2 separate regions of the Homo sapiens genome follow, and region 2 is linked to region 1. Evidence: promoter capture Hi-C in 16 types of primary human blood cells and fetal thymus (Javierre and others, 2016). All regions are on one chromosome and are shown on one strand. The core of a region is centred on a gene start or on the middle of the fragment in contact, and the rest is flanking DNA. Distances in the headings are between cores, read along the strand shown.

The links. The method cuts DNA at HindIII sites, captures the fragments that hold promoters and counts their contacts. A CHiCAGO score of 5 or more calls a contact.
Region 2: a fragment that was not itself captured here is called in contact with the fragment with the promoter of CELSR1 in region 1 in 1 of 17 cell types (M1 macrophages); the score reaches 5.1 in M1 macrophages.

Annotation. Positions count from the first base shown.
Region 1 is chr22:46,535,663-46,539,780 of GRCh38, forward strand. It overlaps CELSR1 (cadherin EGF LAG seven-pass G-type receptor 1), which reads right to left and starts at 1,958. Exons shown (of 35, transcript NM_001378328.1): 1 at 1-1,958. The coding sequence starts at 1,508. The HindIII fragment of the contact is 22,329 bases long and covers 1-4,118 here.
Region 2 is chr22:46,144,726-46,148,691 of GRCh38, forward strand. No RefSeq gene overlaps it. Among named protein-coding and RNA genes, the nearest start is that of PPARA, 3.8 kb to the right of the region's middle. The HindIII fragment of the contact is 964 bases long and covers 2,158-3,121 here.

The DNA of each region.
Region 1 (4,118 bases), core at 708-3,207:
ACGTTCCCGCTGAGGATGCTGTAGTGAATGGCCGCGTTCTGGCCCTGGTCCCGGTCCGTGGCCTGCACTCGCAGCACAGCCGTGTTGAGCCCCACGTCCTCGGGCACCTGGACCACGTAGTTCTGCTCGCTGAACTGGGGGTAGTTGTCGTTCTCGTCCTCCACCTCGATGTACACGGTGGCCGTGGCACTGAGCGGGCCCGGATTGCGCCCCTGGTCGTTGGCCTCCACCAGGAGCTGGTACTCGGCCGCCTCCTCCCGGTCCAGCACCGCCCGTGTGCTCACCACGCCAGAGCTCTCGTTGAGCTGGAAGACGTCCCACGCGCCCCCCAACACGCGGTAACGCAAGTTGGCGTTGATGGGCGAGTCGCGGTCGCTGGCGCGGATGGTCAGCACCTCGTAGCCCACCTCCAGGTTCTCCCGCACGCGCTCGCGGTACTCCGACTGCTCGAAGACCGGGCTGTGGTCGTTGGTGTCTTTGACCAAGACAGTGATGTAGGTGGTGGCCGAGCGCGGCGGCGTACTGTAGTCCACGGCTTTCACCCTGAGGACGTGCGTCTCCTTGGTCTCGCGGTCCAGTACGCTGTCCGTGCTCACGGCGCCCGTGGCAGAGTCGATTCGGAAGTAGCCCCGGGAGCGCTCGTCGAACAGCCCCTCCATGTAATAGCTCACGCGCTCCTCCTCGCCCTCGATGGTGTAGTGCGCGTGCAGCTGGAGGATGAGGGTGCCCGCCGGTTCGTTCTCAAACAACGCCACCTGGTAGTTGGGCATCGGAAACTTCAGGCTCCCTCTGCCGCTCGTGCCCCGCCGGGCCCGTCGCGCCGGCCCCGCCCGGGCTTCGGGCAAGTTCGGCGGCAGGGGCGGCGATGGGGATGGCGACGCGGAGGGCGTCCCCGCGGTGGCGGCCTCCAGCGCCAGTCCCACCCGGACGGCGCCAGCCGCGCGCCGCAGGGCGCACAGCAGACGCAGGCGGACCGAGCCGCCCGGCGGCAGGCAGATGGGACGGCCGGGACAGCGGGGCCTGGGGCGCGGCGGGCAGCGGCAGGCGGGTAAGGTGGTCGGAGCTGCGAGCGCCGAATGCTGCGCGGCCGCGCAGCCGCCGGGGACGGGGAAGCAGAGCGCCCCGCAGAGCCGGGCACCGGTTCCGCAGAGCCGGGCACGGGCTCCGCAGCCGGGAAGGTGCGTGCGCGCCCGCAGGCGGCGGCTCAGCGCCGTCGGGGCACTGCGGGCCACCAAGCGGACTTGCAGCGGCAGCGGGCGCCCCGCGCCCGAGACGCGCCGACGTCCTGCCAGCCGCCCATCGCGGCCCACGTCCAGCAGCTCCCGCGGCGCCCGGGGCGTGCAAGCGGCGCCCACCGCGTAGGTACAGCCGGGCCGGAGGGCGAAGGCGCGGGTCCCGCCGGGTACGCGCGGCTCCCAGGCGGCCGCTCGCAGCCCCATCGCCGGCAGGGCGGCGGCGGCGGCCAGGAGCAGCAGCACGGGCAGCACGGGCGGCGGCGGCGGCGCCATGGCCCGGAGCCCGAGCCCGAGCCGGGCGCCCGAACACAATCCATGCACCCGGCGCGCCTCCGCATCCACCCGGCGAGGCCGGGGAGCGGCTCCCGGGCGCCCGGCCCTCGGGGCGGTCCGCGTCCCGCCTCCCCGGGGGCCCTGGCGGGGACTGTGGGGACCACGCGCCCGGCCTCCCCCGCAGCTTCCACTTCGAGAGCACTTTGCGAAAGTTTGCGAAGTTGGTTTCAAGATGGCTCCTCCGCGCGTCCCGGGAGGGCGCCGCGCATCAACCTGCGGCGGCGGCGGCGGCTCCAGGCGGCTCCAGGTGGCTCCGGCGCGGGCTCGGCCGGACGGGCGTGGGAAGCGGGGCGGGCCCGGCGCGGGGCGGGGGCTGAGTTCCCGGAGCGGGCTGGGCAGCTCCGCGCCGCGCAGACCCCGGCGGCCGGCTGCTGCCTGGGCGGTGCGCTTGGCCCGCGCCCACTCCGCCCGCGCTCTCCCCGCCCCCGGCCCGGCCCCGCCCCGCCCCCGGCCCAGCGGCGTATTGTTCGGCCCCGGGGGGAGCCGGCTCGGAGGTGCGCGCCGAGAGGATCGCTATGGAGACGCGAGGGCGCGGCCGGGACGGGGACTGGGGCCCTACTCCCCGGAGGCCTCCCCACCCAGCCTCCCGGTGGGGCGGGGCCGAGGCAACAGGGCCGGGAAAGGTGGGGCTGGGGCCCCCGGTGGCCGCTACCCGTGGGGCGGTGGCTCCGCACCTCGGGCTCGGGGCCGCGGCTCAGAGCCTGGCTCCCCACCCCGGCAGAACAGATCCACGGAGACCGCCGCCAGGAGTGCCGCGCGGGTAGGACCCGGGGGCGGAGGACTGGGGCCGAGAGGCCGGGGAGCCCCCCCCCACCCATTAAGGACTGCGGAGGCTGTCGAGGAGGGTTACCCATTTTACAGCAAGACGCACGGAGGCTAAAATGCTTCACCCCGACTAAAACTCCCTGGACTTTGAAGCCCAATAGGCAGCTACCGGATCTGCGTCCCACTTGGTTTAAAGCGCAACTTTTAAATGAAAGAAGAAAACCCCGGTTGACATAAGGGATTTGGAGAGGACGGCGGAGGCGCGCTCATCTCCCGCGTGCGGCCCGACCCGAGCGTTCGCGGACGCATCGCGGAATCCCCGAGCGTCCGGCTCCTCCCGAAGCGGGTTGCGGGGAAGGCGGGGGGCTGCGGGTCCTGGAAGCTGCCTGGGGCAAGCAAGCACCCGCAGGGATTTAGAGCTGTGCCACAGCCCCTGCCCAGCCTCCTACGGAGGACAGCGGGGGGCGGGGGGCAGAGACCTTAGAGCTTTCAGAAAAGTGACACACACCCCCGCCTCCTGCGGGGAACCACGGGGGGCCGGGGGCAGCTTTAGGTTTGCGTGACGGGTACACCTGCCTCCGGATGGGGCACAGGGATAAAGGGGGTGGAGGCTTAGGACTTGGCGACCCCCCGCATGGGCGGGGCTTTGGGACTGTGCCACCAGCGGCTGGGAAGGGCGCGCACTCCCTTGGTGGCGCTCGGGGCGCCGGAGTCCAGTGCAGCCCTTAGGCCTCCCAGTGGTCGGGGACGGTAGGTGGGGGTCGCCTCTTCTCTCCTAGAAGGGCTTCTCCTGGGGCCGGTCGGAGCGGTGGGGGTGGGAGTAATGCGCAGTCACCCCTAGAACGGGTCTTTTTGGCAAGGGAGGGTCGGATCCTGCAGCCAAATCTCTGAGCTGAGCTGAGATGAGTCCAGTCTCAACGAGGACCGTGGGCGGCTGTGGAGAACCGGAAGGGTTTCTCCCCCGGAGCGATGTGTCTGTGTGTGTGTCACACGCATACTCAGCCAACTTCGCTCAAAGCTGCTGAAACAGTGTCTTTGTGCTGAAGCCCAATGTGAGCATTTTCTTCCCAGTAGCAAGGATTTGAACACGTTATATTGATCTAAAAGGTGGAGTTGCTTTGGAACCTTTTAATTCGAGGTTTCCACTGGAGAGTCCTGTTGGGAAATGTGTGTGTGGAGGGAGGGGAGGAAGGAGAAAAGTCCGTCTCCTTAATGTGAGCGGTCCAGGACCTCCCCACCCGCCATATACCCTTCCACTGGGATTTTTCCGGGAAGGATGAAAGGACAGGAGTTCTGGGGCCGGAAGGCAGGGCGGGTCCCTGAGCCCGGAGCCTCCCAGTGGAAGGCTACTGGGCGGACCTGAAGGGGACCCAGGCAGGAGGAAAAACCAGAGAACCCCAGGAGTGCCTGTTTTGCAATAAGGCTTTAAGCAGAGTGGGTTGGGTTTAAATAAACAAAACTCAGCTGCAGCCAGTGGGTTCAGGTGTGGGCCTGCTTTTCTGGAATAAGGCACCTGCAGGCTGCGAGGTAACCACAGGGACTGCCCAACACCTAGGGACAGGGGAGGATGGATGAATCTCACTAACAGGATGTCCAGCAAAGACAAAAGATCATTCCATTCACGCTTAGACCGACAGCAAGCCCGACTCCACCATAACGTTTAGAGGTGTGCACAAATAGGGGAAAGATGAAGAAAAACAAGGAGGTGATTATGGGCACATTCAGGAGGGCTCTGGGGGAGGAGGGGCATCCCCTTCTGGACCTGAGGGTTACCAGAGTGTCGGC
Region 2 (3,966 bases), core at 1,390-3,889, 390 kb before region 1:
GGCTGGTCTTGAACTCCTGTCTCAGGTGATCCACTTGCCTCAGCCTCCCTAGGTGCTAGGATTACAGGCCCACCATGCCCAGCCCAAGGCTCTTTCTTTTCTTTTCTTTTCTTTTTTTTTGAGACAGAGTCTCACTCTGTCGCCCAGGCTAATCTCCAGTCACTGCAACCTCCGCCTCCTGGGTTCAAGCGATTCTCCTGCCTCAGCCCCCAGAGTAGGTGGGACTACAGGCACGTGCCACCATGCGCAGCTAATTTTTGTATTTTTAGTAGAGATGGGGTTTCACCATGTTGGCCAGGCTAGTCTCGAACTCCTGGCCTCAGATGGTCCACCTGCCTCGGCCTCCCAAAGTGCTGGGATTACAGGCATGAGCCACCACGCCTGGCCCCGAGGTATTTCTTTAAATCAGCTAGTTGAAGTTCTATAGGAAACTCTTCACAATGTCAGTTTTTTGTTTTTTTGTTTTGTTTTGTTTTGTTTTTTTCACTTTGCTGCAGACCCAGAAAACTTTGTCAAACATGACCTGTCCCTTCCAGGAGATGAGGGACCATGGCCCAATCCCACGTTTTAGTGAAACCCAAGCAGAGCAATGCAATAGGGCAGCCCCCCTTCCACTCAGCTGCACAGGCTCCGGTTCAGATTGCCTTTCCTGGCTGGCAGGATGCTTTGGTGAAAGGCAGATAATAGGGTGGGACAGGGGATCACGGGCGGGAGACACGTAGGCACTGGGGCTGGTGTCTGCGAGGCATGAGGCCTGCCTGTCGGCTGTCCTGAGTGGAGAGACAGGACCGGGCAGTGGGCCGCCATAAAGATGGTGCTGGATGCGACAAGAGCCGCATGGAACACAGGAGGTGGTGGCCACACAAGGCAGAGGGCAGCTTTGGCAGGGGGACGGTTGCCAAGCAGGCTTCCTGTAGGAGGCAACTCTTGACAGAGCCCTCAAGCTGGTGGTTACCATGTCCCAAATATGACCCACTCATCAGGCCCCACCCTGCACCACCCCCGTGCTCCCTCCTCAAACTCACACCAGGACCCATCCAGGAAGGCGTCCCTGCCCCATTTTAGAGATGAGGGGGCTCGGATAGCATCACCGGCTGGAGGTTGTAGTTTGAGGAAAAGGTACAGGAGGATTTGAATCCAATTCTGTTGAACTCCAAACCCCAGGCACCCACTCATTCCATGAGGGAAAGTTGGGGGACAGTGCCCACGTGGCACGGTGCTGTGCACGTAAGCTTGCCTGTCTTGTGTGTTTCCAGGCTGTCATGCCAGACCTCATCTCTGCACTTGCAGTCTTCCCTGGCCGCAGCAGTGCCACTCACTGCCAACCACTGGGTCAGATCATTGCAGAATCCAACTCCACACAGAGCAGATTGTCCTTTATGGACCAAATATGTCTATCTGGTTGGGCGCAGCGGCTCACGCCTGTAATCCCAGCACTTTAGGAGGTCAAGGCGAGCGGATCACCTGAGGTCAGGAGTTCGAAACCAGCCTGGTCAACATGGTGAAACCCTGTCTGTATGAAAAATACAAAAAATTAGCCGAGTATGGTGGTAGGTGCCTGTAATCCCAGCTACTCAGGAGGATGAGTCAGGAGAATCACTTGAACCTGGGAGATGGAGGTTGCAATGAGCCGAGATCTCACCACTGCACTCCAGCAAGGACATAAGTGCAGAGCAAGACTCCATCTCAAAAAGAGAAGAGAAGAGAAGAGAAGAGAAGAGAAGAGAAGAGAAGAGAAGAGAAGAGAAGAGAAGAGAAGAGAAGAGAAGGGAAGGGAAGAGAAGAGAAGAAAAAAGAAAAGAAAAGTAAAGAAAGAAAATCCGTCTATCTACACATCACACTTTGCAGTGAGACTCCCACGGCACCTAGCATGACACAGGGAGGGGTCCTGCAGCTTCCAGTCCATGTCCTGGACTGGATAAACAACATCCATGATCTAGCCCTGGAGCTGGATCCTGTGTGACGAGGTGGACACCTGTCCCTTTGGAGGGGCAAAGAAGGGAGGCAGTGCAGCTGCAGGTGGGCTGCCCTGTTCTTCTCAAGATCTACAGAGACAGACATCTGAGCCATGTCGAATGGGCCCTGCTGCAAAGCTGGGGACTGGTTAATTTTCAAAGGGTACAGTGTCATGACAGCAGCAGTTTCTGGACCTGCGGAAGCTTCCAGATCCTGCAAAGCTAGAATGGGTGCACAGCTTAAGCCCCTCCCCACCACCTCAGCTGTGACCACTGGTTAACATGTAGCATGCAGCACTTGGTGCTAATCAGATGGAGTCATGCCTCTGCTGACAACCCTCCATGGCAGGTGTCCCACAGCCCTTAGGACCAAAGTTAAACTCCTCACTGGGCTGCAAGACCTGCCTGGCCAGGGCCTTGCCCAGCTCTGCCCGCTTTGTGCCATCTCCACACTCTCTCCCCTTGAATGTCTCCTGCCACAGGCTTCTGCACATGCTGCTGCCACCCCCCTGGAGCTGTGGGGCCAGGAGCAGCCACCAGGGAAATCTGATCCTTGACCCTGGGCTCCTGAGTCTGCCAGAGGCTGCCGTATCAGCCAACAGACAGCTTCTGCAACAGACAACCGAACCCCGGGGGTACCCAGGGCCAGGTGCTGATGGACTGGGACTCGGGAGAGTTCTCACTCCCTGCCGGGGACCTTGGCCACATGCTGCCATTCCTGGCCCTTCGTTCCTCATCTGTAAGATGAGCATAAGCACAGCTGCCTTGTGGGACTCTTGTAGATTCTGTCCCCTAGTATGACAATACTTTGTTACCTTGGACCCATGGGGTTTTGCTGTCAGTACCAGGATGGCAACTAAGGACATGCCCATGGTTGGCCCTCACCGACGAGGTCCAGCCTTGGGTCGCCAAGCAGCCGCCTGCTCGCTGCCAGTGAGCCCTCCCTTTCTCAGCCCACGGCCCCTGCCCCGGTGGACTTCCACCACCTGACCTGCAGGCACGCTTCCAGGAGCTCAGAGGCCACTGCCCTGGCGGATGACACCCTGGAAGCACACACTCCCCCTTGACAGAGAGCTTTGCACATCAGCAGAGGGCAAGCCAGCAGCAAACTTCGCAGGCCCTGGCTGGCAAACAGACTCCAGCCTGGACCCCAGGCCCATAGGAGAAGCTTCACCCTGGCAGGGTCAGGGAAAGCACTGGGGTCCCTGAACACAGATGACCGTCATCACCTGCTCCCAGCACTCAGGGTCTAACTGCTGCCCTGTACTGAGCGGCCAAGCCCTATCACTCCAGGTTGCCTCCTCCAGCAACCCCTTCCCGTCTGAATTCCCAGCTTCCCAATTCTTTCCCTGAGGCTGTGGGAGAGCCTCGGCTTCTCTGGCTGGCTGGCAGGTCAGCACTTGCAGGAGAGAGCAGCTCAGCAGGGCAGACGTGGGCTTTACAGACCTGCCTTCCGTCCTGCGCCCTGCCGCTGGCCTGGGGGACCCAGTGCAGATGGGGCTTCTCTGTGCCTCAGTCTCCATCTTGCAATGTGGGCACAGTAATAATTACCCTCAGAACATCTTCCGGATCAGAAAATGTAAAAAGGGACCTGAGACAGCATTGTCACCACATAAATGGTAGCTATGAACTAAGATCCATATGCACCAGATGCTCCCAGTAGTCACTAAGGCGCCAGAGAGGAAACTCAGGTGGTGCTCAGAGACATTTTCAGGAGCACTGATTTGTCCTCAAAGTTACAGATTTCTACTCAGTCCCTGCGCCAGCGGTGTTTCTGTTCTGTCGTGTGGCCCTCATTTCATCAGCACTGAAGAAGGTAAAGAGAGACTTCCTGGAGCTGGGAATGGGGGTGAGGGTGTGCCCTTTGTGACAGTTGCTCCCATGCTGGGTGTGTGACAAGGTCTTCGTGGCCAACAGAAAATTGCTTCATCTCTCTCATCTGAGCGTGGTTTCCCAGAAGAAACCTACCACCCCCGGGAAGCATGGATATGGGGCTGTTTCTGGCCAGGAT